2 separate regions of the Homo sapiens genome follow, and region 1 is linked to region 2. The links are contacts of gene promoters, found by promoter capture Hi-C in blood cells and fetal thymus (Javierre and others, 2016). All regions are on one chromosome and are shown on one strand. The core of a region is centred on a gene start or on the middle of the fragment in contact, and the rest is flanking DNA. Distances in the headings are between cores, read along the strand shown.

Evidence for each region. Contacts are between HindIII fragments. The CHiCAGO score rates a contact against its expected background, and 5 or more counts as called.
Region 1: a fragment that was not itself captured here is called in contact with the fragment with the promoter of MTG2 in region 2 in 2 of 17 cell types (erythroblasts and neutrophils); the score reaches 6.1 in erythroblasts.

What each region holds. Positions count from the first base shown.
Region 1 is chr20:62,636,287-62,641,985 of GRCh38, forward strand. LOC124904949 (a long non-coding RNA gene) reads right to left here. Exons shown (of 2, transcript XR_007067711.1): 1 at 5,367-5,699; 2 at 1,359-5,060. Among named protein-coding and RNA genes, the nearest start is that of SLCO4A1, 3.4 kb to the right of the region's middle. RefSeq lists an enhancer at 1-210. The HindIII fragment of the contact is 4,159 bases long and covers 1,181-5,339 here.
Region 2 is chr20:62,179,616-62,185,053 of GRCh38, forward strand. It overlaps MTG2 (mitochondrial ribosome associated GTPase 2), which reads left to right and starts at 3,413. Exons shown (of 7, transcript NM_015666.4): 1 at 3,413-3,442. SS18L1 (SS18L1 subunit of BAF chromatin remodeling complex) reads left to right here. Exons shown (of 11, transcript NM_198935.3): 11 at 1-2,899. RefSeq lists silencers at 3,042-3,231, 3,271-3,455, 3,462-3,631. The HindIII fragment of the contact is 5,602 bases long and covers 2,176-5,438 here.

The DNA of each region.
Region 1 (5,699 bases), core at 2,010-4,509, 460 kb after region 2:
CACGGCATTTTAGGACGGGGGACCTGGTGTGGGGGCTTGGATGGAAAGACAGGGAACAGGATAAGCCCTGGGAAGGAAAGGGGGATGTGGCTGCCTCTTCAGGGGCCGGGGTGGGCGTCTGCCCAGGAGGGCAGCGGAGGAGGGGAGGGCAGTGCGGGTAGGGAGGGGAGGTGGCCCCACAGACGCTGGGAGTGCCCAGGTTTTCTGACAACCTCAGCCGCTTGGCTAGAGCGTCTGGAAGGATTTGCGGGGAGCATGTCTGGGGGAATCGAGGCTCTGTGACGGGTGACGGCACAAAGGGGCCCAGCAGGCCTGGCTCCAGCGCCAGCCAGAGGAGTGGCCGGGGGATGAGAGAGCCCAGGAAGGCACCCCAGGGAGGTGCAGCACGCGCCGCCGACTCAGCCCTGGGCCCCGTACGCAGGAGCCACCCCCTTCCTGCAGATGGAACAAACCATCTGGGGTCAGGAAATTGAGCTGGCTCTTCTAATCTCCTCTAGAGCTCCACGTTCCTGGGGTTTAAGTAGAACATCCAGGCCTCTCAGTGAGCCAGAAAAGCCCATTTCTACCTTGTGATGGGGAAGATGAAAATTCTGTGAGTCTCCTACGTGGGAAAGGGTCCGGCTTGCCTGCAGGATGCTGACTGCGTGGCACCTAAACACAGAAAGTTCTGGAAGATTCCTTGCCCCTGTGTAGGCTTAAATATCGTTCACTAGCTCTGACAGTCCACCCAGGCCCTGGGCAACATGTTCCAGGGCAGAGCAGGTTGGCACAAGATGGACATGGTCATGGTGCCTTCCACGGTCACGGGACCCTGGGGACAGCAGACACCGCCCAAGAAGGAATCTCAGGGACCTGTGGGCATCCCTGTTTTTGTGCCTCTGGGTTCTATCACCTGACTTCCCCCAACAATGAGCTCTGCACATGGCCAGGGATCTCTGCACACGTCCAGGGAGCTCTGCACATGGTCAGCCAGCTCTGCACACGGCCAGGAACTCTGCACACCATCAGGGATCTCTGCACACAGCCAGGAACTCTGCACACGGTCAGCGAGCTCTGCACACAGCCAGGGAGCTCTGCACATTGTCAGGGAACTTTGAAAGGGCTGGGCAGGTCACCTTCCTTTCACCCCCAAGTGAGTGAGGCTGCAATGGGGTGTCCATGTCCTTGGACAAAGCTCCAAAGCTTCTAGCTTCTCTGAAGCTCACAGAGGTGTCAGCTTGGTGGGGAAGGTGCCAAGGCAGGGCCCTGGAGATGGGGACAGGGACTGCCCACTTCCATTTGCCAAAGTCTCAGCAAATGAAACATGAGGGAATGAATGCTCAAAGAGGGCTGCAAACAATCGCCAACAAGGTAAATGATTACATTTAACGCTTTTACTGTAAACACTCTCAATGCAATATAATCTTGCTAGTCATGCTGGGTGGGCCGGGATGAGAGTTAGCAGAAGACCTGATGGGTCTGTGCCTCGGCGGGTCCGGACTGCATGCACAGTTGTATTGGAAGCTAAGATAATCACTCACCTAACACGAGGCCCTTCCAGAATGTGAGGTCTCAGCCAAGTGAACCCTGTGAACACCTCCACCCCCAGACCCGCGGGGAGGCTCAGGAGCCAGGCAGACCGAGGCAGTTCCAGAAGCCCTTGGGCTGGCAGACGTTTGCCTCTTTGTAAGTAAGAGTGTATGCAGAAGACCTCACAAGCAGATCACCAGTGAAATTCAGATGACCCTTCTAGAGAGGCTGTGGGCAGCCAAGGCCCCAGGTGTGGACAGGGCTGCTGCTCTCCAGGTGCTGGGGGCCCCAGCATGTCTCTTCCTACAGCTCCATGTGCCTTTGCCACGGAGCCACCGGCATTCAGTGGCCTCTTCCCCACTTGGCTGCTATGTGTCCCCTGGAACTCAGGGCACTCCAGGTGTCCTCAGGTCATGTCTCAGAGCTCAGGGCCATCTCGCCAGGCAGGGAAGTCCAGATTCCAATTTTTTCTACCCCACACCTAATCTCTAACAGCAGGCTCTGAACACACAGGAATCAGTTGGTGGCTTCTAAAGAGAACATGATACCGTCATGTAGCTGCCTGTCCAGACGCTGAAGCCTGTGCTTTCACCGGACCCTAGTGCTTGTGAATGACGACCTCTGTTCTCCTGGGTCAAAACTTCCTTCACCACCGTCAAGAAGGCCACCCTTTGTCGGCGGGTTAAATGCAGTGTTATTTACATATGGTTTATCTGGGCATCTATAATCCCAGGGCGAGAGCCCACCATCCACCAGCATTTTGGAAGAACGCCTGAGACCTGAGACCTGAGACCTGGTGCAATGGAATCAGATTCCCTGGTAGCTGCTTTTAATGGTGACAGATTCTCTGAAACAGAAAAAGATTGAATTGAGTCTGTCTCCCTGGAGTCGTCCTGCTCTGGGAGATGCAGAGGGAGGGCGGCAGGAGGGAGGACAGTGGGAGGCCTCTGTTGGTCAATTGCTAGGCTGCTGTCACCAGATGGTGGATGGCGTTTGTACAGCACTGGCCAAGGGCCCAGCTCAGCAGGGCCAGAGCCTCAGGTCATGTCGCAGGTGAGCAAAGCAGCGTGGATGGAAGACGAAGATCTTCGTCCCACGGAGGGCTTGCTGTGCGCCCCGCAGGACGCAGATCACCGGGAAGAGCAGGAAGCAGAAGCGCAGGAAAGCCAATGCTGTGACTGAGGCGTGGCCAGCAAGCCAGGCCCTCCAGCCACACCCTGCTCCAAAGGGGCTCCGACAGGATGGACTGATGATTTCCAAGAGAGAACATGCTTTTTATCTTCTATGGAATTTTGCTACCAAAGAGCCTCCCAGCTACCTGTGCCCTTCCCTAACCTGACAATCTTAATTCCCCCATGAAACTCCTCCATCGCGGACATTTGGACAACTCCAGGCTGAGTTTTTCCTAAGGCCACTCTGGCCTTGTGCGTCTCTTCTTTGCTAAGCTGTGTGCCAGCCGCCAGCCCACATCTGGGTTGTACCATGATCCTAACTCCTCACCTGAACACAGCATTTAACAGACTGAAACGTGCCACTCTGGAGCTGGGGACTTCAAGCCACATTTCGCCTGCAGCCCGATCGCCTTCAATCTTTAGCAAAATCCTCTTTCTCATGCAAAACAGTGCAGTCGTAACTTTTAAAATATTTTTTAGAAACTTTCTCTAGAGCCTCCACCACATGGCCACAGCCTGAGACTTTGAAATAATGAAACAATTAAATGATGTTTTCATCATTTCTGAGACTTGCCCATTATCACGAAGCTGAAATGGCCATTTTTTTATAAGTCAAGGAAGGACAGGCAGTTTCAAATGAGTTGGCTAAGACATACGCCAAATTCATAGAAAATAGAAATGAACTATGACTACAGAATGGAAGCAACCACAGAAATATTAGCAGGATTTTAAGTATTATCCCAATCAAGTACTAATAGCTAAGTGAGGTCATTTTTTGGATACCATTCCTGGTCAAAGCTAGGAATGATGTGTGTTCCAGGCTGGACCCTCCAGGCAGAGGCACCGGGATCCCACGCTGTTTCTGGGTTGGCCATTAACCTGCCCCTTGACCTGACAGCGTTTCTCTCTCTTCTCTCTCTACACTTCTCTTCTGATCTTTAGATCGATTTTCCTCCAAGTGACAATGTCCATAAAGAGAGAGGGAGGTGGAAATACAGGCTGTCACATTTCAGCTCTTTGAGGTGCCTCTAAAGATGATGTCAGAGAACAGTAAGTGGCCCACAAATGTGCAGCATCTGTTCCGAGCCTCCTGAAGCCGCCCGGACAGGCAGCAGTACGACCCTGCAAGGCCACAGGGGAGCCAGGGGGTTCTCGCTTTCTTTTTCTTTTAATTATTTCCTCTCAAAAAAGAAAAAAAAAAAAGAAAAGAAAGAAAAAAAGCCCTGCTGGGATAGAACTTATTGAGTTCAGAATGTTCCAGGGCACATAATCAGGCTGCCCTTGTTCCAAGACACTGCTGTGCTCTGTAGCTGACCCCCGAGTCCTCTAGGGCAAGAGTAAGGACACAGTCGGCTCCCGAAAGCTGGTGCAGATGGACCCCACCACGCAGGGCCTGGAGTTGGGCCAGACCTGCAGACCCCCTTGATGGCCTGCGGCAGGACCCTTCACCTGGGTCAAGGCCTCCTGGTGCTCCTAGGGGCCTCTTGAGGAGCCTGGGCACCAGCATTTGCCTTTGAGGACAGGACTGAGGGCCTGCATTTTGCACGAATGTACCTGAAATGTTTGCTCTGGATTTACCTTTCCAATGGTGCCTATGCAGGAATCCCAAAGAATGCCTGGTGGGGTCTGAGGCGGGTCTCAGGCCGGGAGCCCTCCACAGGCAGCAATATTTGGCTAGAATTTAATGCCATTTTGTTTCTTTTTATCTATTTTTATGGTGACCTCTTTGTGGTAATTGACACTGACTTTTTAAAAAATAAACTTACCCTTTTAATCAAATGTGTGAATTGTTTAAAGGAAAAACATTGTGTAAATAATGTTTTCAGGGGGTAGAATCCAGACGTGAGTTTTGGAAACAGAGTCCAGTCCTGCTTCTGACATTTGAATTGCTTCTCCAGCATCATCACCAGAAGATGGGCTACCTGTGCTCACAAGCCTCCTGTAACACGGAGCTCACCACCTCTCAAAGGCACCTTCTGTCAGGTCTGCCTGGAAATGCTGCTCCCGCAGACTCCGCACCTGAGGCCAGGTCTGCAGCGAAGCTCATCCACACCTGAGGCCAGGTCTGCAGCGAAGCTCAGCCCCCTTCCTTCACAGGAGAAATACTTCTGGGTGTGCACCTTCCACTCCTGGCAGGGCCGTGAGCCCCTGTGGCAGTGCCTCACCCTCTGGGAGGGACCCTCTCCATCTGGGAACAATGTGGGTACTTTTTTCTCTTAAAGGGCAGTGTCAGGAATGAAAGCAGATACCCAAAAGCAGTGGGTCTCGTGGCCTCGTGTCTGCTTCCAGAAGTGGAGGGCGGCCTGGGACGGCGGGAGCCCTGAGGACACCACCGGGGGGGTCCCGGGACCTGATACGAGTGGGCAGGAGCCCCAAGCCCTGGAGGAAGGAAAACCATTTCATAAATAACTGCATGGGGTTGTGGGCCTTTTCTCACAAGCCGCAGCACCTCCTTCGTCTCTCCACGGTGAACCCGCCCGCCACGCTATGCCACCAGGCCAGGTCCTGCAGCACCGCCTCCGTGGCTAGGACTTCCTCACCAGCCTGGGGCCGTGAGGTGGTCATTTCCCCCCTTACCTGACTTATCTCAGGATTCACACACACACACTTGACTTTCGGAAACTTCTTTTAAATTAATTTCACTGACACTAAAAGGGAAGCTTTGTGGAGTGTGATTGTGGTTACCTGTTAATACTTGGCAACAATTATGAGCCCTGATATGAGCCAACTTCTTCCGTCTTATCCCCTTTGAGGACGCTCTGTTATCGCCCCCATTTTGCAAACGAGGAAACTGAGGCTCGGAGGCCTGGAGCAATGTGTTCCAGGACAGACGGCAGGAAGCCGGGGTAGGAATTCCAACAGGGAGTTCCCTCTGTGGAAGGGAACGTGGCTGGCACCTCCCTGCCTTCCACCCTCAGAGCTAGTGTGAAAAAGAAGACGGGGTTATGGAAAAGGCAACGGGCTGGAGATTCCCCGGATTCCCAGGCTAGGGCGCCGGTCTCACTGTGCGCGCAGGTG
Region 2 (5,438 bases), core at 2,163-4,662:
CAGTGTTGTAGTGTGGGTTGTCAACTTTTCTTTAACTGGCTACGCCACAGCTGGACACACATGCAGCCCCTGGAGGGCAGCCTCTTCCTGTGCCTCGATGGGGTGGGTGGGAGGGCATCTTCTGTGCGTTGGGTCAGTTTCTGTTACGTAACGAAAAGGATAAACATCTCCCACGGGAGAGGCCACAGATGGCCACTTCCAGAGCTTGCCCATTGCCTGTCTCTCGCCAATTCCGTTTATCCAAAAAGGTACATGTTTTTGTATTAAAAAGTAAACAGGGATCAGTGACTGTATTCCAAATAAATATGAATCCCTAAGGGCCGTGGACAAATTGCCTAACCCAGGGCCAGCGGTATTGCTGAAGGAAAGGGGCAGCTCTCTGGGAAGTGGGCCCTCAGAGATTACTCTGGCTTTGACCCTTGTTTAGCTGATGGTCATTTCTGGGATTGGAATATTTAATAAGCCCAATTCTAAGTTGATAGGTAATTTTAAATATTCAAACCAAATCTTCCCAACAGTTGGCAAGTTGTTTATTTTATATTATTTCTTCCAGGACCTACTTGCTCAGATCTCCAAGCAAGCATTTCTTTTCTTTTAGGGATGTCTGAAAGTCACATCCAGTTACATTACTGTGTTCTTTCTAATGAAAAGTAAAGGTTTTATATAGAGAAACTTGAGTAATTTTTACATTTCTAAGACATTAAATCCCATTTAAATTCTGTGTGAACATTAAAGACAGCACACTTGCAAAAGTATGGTCAAAGGAAAAAAATCCCACATTTCAATTAACAAGTAGCATGGACATTTGATCAACCTTTAGTTGGAATAATAATATTCATATTTGCTATGAATCCTTTTAAAAAAATCTTTGGATAAATGCTGACAGATTTCCAAGAACTACCAAGAAAATACAAGAGATATCCAATGCTTGATATATGAGGCCTAGTAATAACGATATTTCTCTTTAATTGATGTTTTGTTTTAAAAGTTAAAAGTAATTCTTGGCGTGGTGGTTCACGCCTGTAATCCCAGCACTTTGGGAGGCCGAAGCGGGCGGATCACCTGAGGTCGGGAGTTCGAGACCAGCCTGACCAACATGGAGAAACCCCGTCCCTACTAAAAATACAAAATTAGCCAGGTATGGTGGTGCATACCTGTAATCCCAGCTACTCGGGAACCTGAGGCAGGAGAATGGCTTGAACCCAGGAGACAGAGGTTGTGGTGGGGCAAGATCGCACCATTGCACCCGAGCCTAGGCAACAAGAGTGAAATTCCGTCTCAAAAAAATAAATAAATAAATAAATAAATAAGTTAAAATTAATTCTTTATCCAGAGTCGGGTGCTTTAGAATTTATAAGTCACTTATGTGTTTTGCTTGAATTAATTCTGACAGCCCCTATGAGGAAATCTGGAGGCAGGTAACAGTTCCCATTTTAGAGATGAAGAACTGAGGCACAGATTAAAGGACTTGCCTGTGTTGAATACCAGTCCTGTTCTAGGACATTCTCCCCTCTCCTAGGAGACGGATGTCACGCACAAATGGGGAGAGAAGTGTTTATTTTGTAGGCACTAAGGGTTTCTAAAACCCTTAACACTGGTAAGGGCTCAAAAATAAACGTATGTGTTCATATTCGATCACCGAAATGAGAGTTCTTAATTGCTAATTGACAAACGCGTTAGCAATTTCAGTTAGGGAGTCATCTCCCTTGATTGTGTTCTTTTCCTGTCAATTTTCATAGACCTAATTTGCAAACTCAATCGGGGACTAAAATTTCCCACTGAAAATGTTAAACATTTTAGATAACTGTGAAGATAGTTTATTTTTATTCCTTGCCAATCTGGGAATATGCCTTTTTTGTGTGTTTGTGTGTTTTTTTAAGTGCTGTATTAATAATACTTTCTGAAAGAAAAGGACACTTACCCCAAAACTTCAATCTGAAATGTCTTACATTAAGAATATCTTGAATGTTGTGTATATATTTTAAAAAGCACTTTGCAAAATAGTTTGTACATTTATTTCCTAATTTATACATGATTTTTGGTGTTAATATATTTAATGATTAATAACAGAATGTTTATTTAATGTGCTGTCCATTTTTATGTAATATTATGGGGAAAGTGATGCCAGCAGTTCCTTTTCATTATTCTATCTTCTGTCATATGAATGTTGAGCAAAGCTTAGGCCAACATGAATTGTTTGTGAAGTGTGGTTGATGGTGCTTTGTTTTTTTCTGACTACTTCTATGGAAGGCCAGTGAAGAAGCAAAGGAAGACATGAAAATTGACGCTCATTCTTCTTCCTATTGTTCCCTGACATCCAGCAAATTGTGAATTTGAAAAATGATGGCCAGTTTTCAGAAGTGCTGACAAATTCATATTGGTATGCAAAAGCTCATCACCCATTAAGGTTTGTTGTTGAATCAACAGTACTCAGCATATTAAAACAGTACATCAGAACTCATGCCAACAGTCTTTATGATGGGATTAAGGTGGACAAGATCTCCTAAGATCTGTGAATGGGATTAAGGTGGACAAGATCTCCTAAGATCTGAAAAGAAACCTTAATACGCTCATATGGTTGGAGTGTTAAGTGAACCTCTGATTTTGTCAGGGTTTTTCTACGTGTAGGCGTGAATAGGGGGCACCCCTTCAAAACTGTACAAAGAAGACGACTGTTTTCCATTTCCATTTAAACATTTTTAGCCACTTCATTTCTATTTATTGAACAGGTCAAATTTGTCTTGTTATTTGTGAGTACAGTACATTTAAAAAACATCCTTATCGGTTATTTTTTTTTCAGTCGGAGTTTGACGTATAAATTGTTTATGCTTTTGGTGTAATCTCTTAATAAACTGGTTCTTCAAAAATCATCCTATAAAGTGAGTTTTCATGAAGTTAACGGGATTTTGGTGTGATGTGTTTTGCAAATACTTATTACCGAGACCAGGTAGATCGTCACCTCGGCTCCCGGGCAGAGTTCGCGTGCGTCCGCACCGGATTCCCCGCGGCGGCAAGGCGAAGCCAGGGTAAGGGCGGTGGGGACGGCGCCCCGGGGCTGCCCTGCGGTCCCCACTGCCTGCTCTGCGTTGCCCCGTAGCCTCCTCGGGCAACGGCGGTGTCCTCGTCAGACCCGGGAGGTTCCGCAAACGCCGGAGGGGTCAGAGAAGCTGGGGGACCTTGGGCACCGGGTGGAACGGGCGGGGCGGCTGTCCTTGTGCTCGGGCAGCGAGGGCGCCGGCGAGAAGCGCGGCTGCAGCTGAGCGCTCCGCATCCCTCCTGCCGTTGCTCCTGCTTCCGCTACCAGGGACAAGGTCGCCTCTCGGTCCGTCGGCGTGTTTTCTGCACCTGCGCACTGGGCAAGCCTTGGGCTTCCGGAGCCAAAAGGCCCCGGAAGTGGTCGGCCGCTTGCGACGCTCCGGAAGTGACGTGCTTTCCCGAGCCGGTGAGTGCGGGAGCGGGGAGCGGGGAGCGTGGGCCTGGGGGGTGGTCGCGGCCCGGGCGCAAGGAGGGGCCTCGGCTTGGGCCGCGGGGTACCGGGGCGCTGGGAGCGGGAGAGGCCCCGGCCTAGGAGCTGAGAGGCCTGGAGGGCTGCCGGGCTGCGAACCCCGGCGGGACCGAGCGCTGCGGCCCTGGAGTAGCGAGCGCTCGGGCGGTGGGGAGCGGCGCCTTGCTCCCCGGTCCTGCCCCACTCTCTCCGCAGAACCGCGTTTTGGGGTCAGAAGTCTTGTCAGCCACCCCGGTGGTGCTCTGTCACGGGATGGGTGCCGTGTGTGAGTTCCGAGTCAAGTTGTTAGGAATTTGCCTTGATCCAGCGCTCTAAGTATTAAACATTTTAAAGTGATTATTGGCAGTATACAGTTGCACAAAACAACATAAATATATACACATTTGGATGATAAAACAACAATAAAGTTTTGTATTGTAAACGCGCCTCAGGGAGACGCATTTCCAGATAATTCACTGTCCGTGGCTGGCTTCTGCCCAGTGAGAGCGGGTTACCCGTTCTATTCCCATTTACGTTCTCGTAGCTGTGGATACCGAGGAACGGCGTTCACACAGACCTGTAGGTGGGAATTAGAGGGGTTGTTGGGCAGTGTCACTAGAGAAATACCTTTCTTTTGTAAAGGGGAGGACCCATTATAAAAGGGGGACGGGAAAGGAGAATTCAAATTGTTTTAAACGCAGGTTCGTCCTCAGGCAGTTCTGTTTTAGCAGAGAGAACGTAGCGAAACTTGGGCAGAAAATGGATTCCTTTGAAATTATCCTGGCCTTAGTCCCTTGGGAAGTCTGTGTAGGCGAACCTCAGTGAGAAGATTCCTGCCGTAAAATGCAGGTGTCAGCAGCATGCCAGGGAGGCCAGAGGATACTATGTGACTTTGGGCAAGTGACTGAACCTCTGTGAGTCTCAGCCTCCACTGCTTTAGATGGGCATAAAAAATGTAAAGTCAAGAATCAGGTTTCCGCTGGGCGCGGTGGCTCACGCCTGTAATCCCAGAACTTTGGGAGGCCAAGGCGGGCAGATCACGAGGTCAGGAGTTAAAGACCAGCCTGGCCAACATGGTGAAACCCCATCTCTACTAAAAATACAAAAAAGTAGCCGGGCGTGGTGGCAGGCGCCTGTAATCCCAGCTACTGGGGAGGCTGAGGCAGGAGAATCGCTTGAACCTGGGAGGTGGAGGTTGCAGTGAGCCGAGACCGCACCACTCTGCTCCAGCCTAGGCAACAGAGCGAGACTCTGTCTCAAAAACATACCCAAAAAAAAAAAATCAGGTTTCATGCTCACAGGAGGATTTGAGGAGGGTTTATAAAGGGACCGTTTGCAAAGGCAGAGTGCAGGTTAATGACAGTTGGTCCTTTAGCCTGGAACTGGTGGCAGTGGAGTTTCTACTCCTGGACTCCAAAGGATCAGGGAAGGCAGCAGTGATCGGGACAGGGAGAAGAGTCACTGGGGAGGGCTTCTTGGACTGGAGGTGTGAGCCTCAGTCTGAGTGGGCAGGGAGGTCCATGTCCCGGCCTCCTGCTCCTGCCTCCAGTCTCTGGTAGAGGGCCAGGTCCCAGTAGGTTTTCCTATGGGGCAAGCTCAGGCTCCTGACACACAGCACAGGGCAGGGTGGAAAGCTGGTCTGGAAAAGCAAATGGAAGATAGCTCGGCATGCAGTATTACCCCTCGCAGGGTATTATCGTTAGGAATACATTTAAAAGTGGATATATTGGTTGGGTGTGGTGGCTCGCGCCTGTAATCCCAGCACTTTGGGGGGCCGAGGCAGGTGGATTTCCTGAAGTCGGGAGTTCAAGACCAGCCTGGCCAACACGGTGAAACCCCGTCTCTATTAAAAATACAAAAATGAGCTGGGTGTGGTGGTGGGTGCATGTAATCCCAGGTACTCGGGAGGCTGAGGCGAGTGGATCACTTGAACCCATGAGGCGGAGGTTACAGT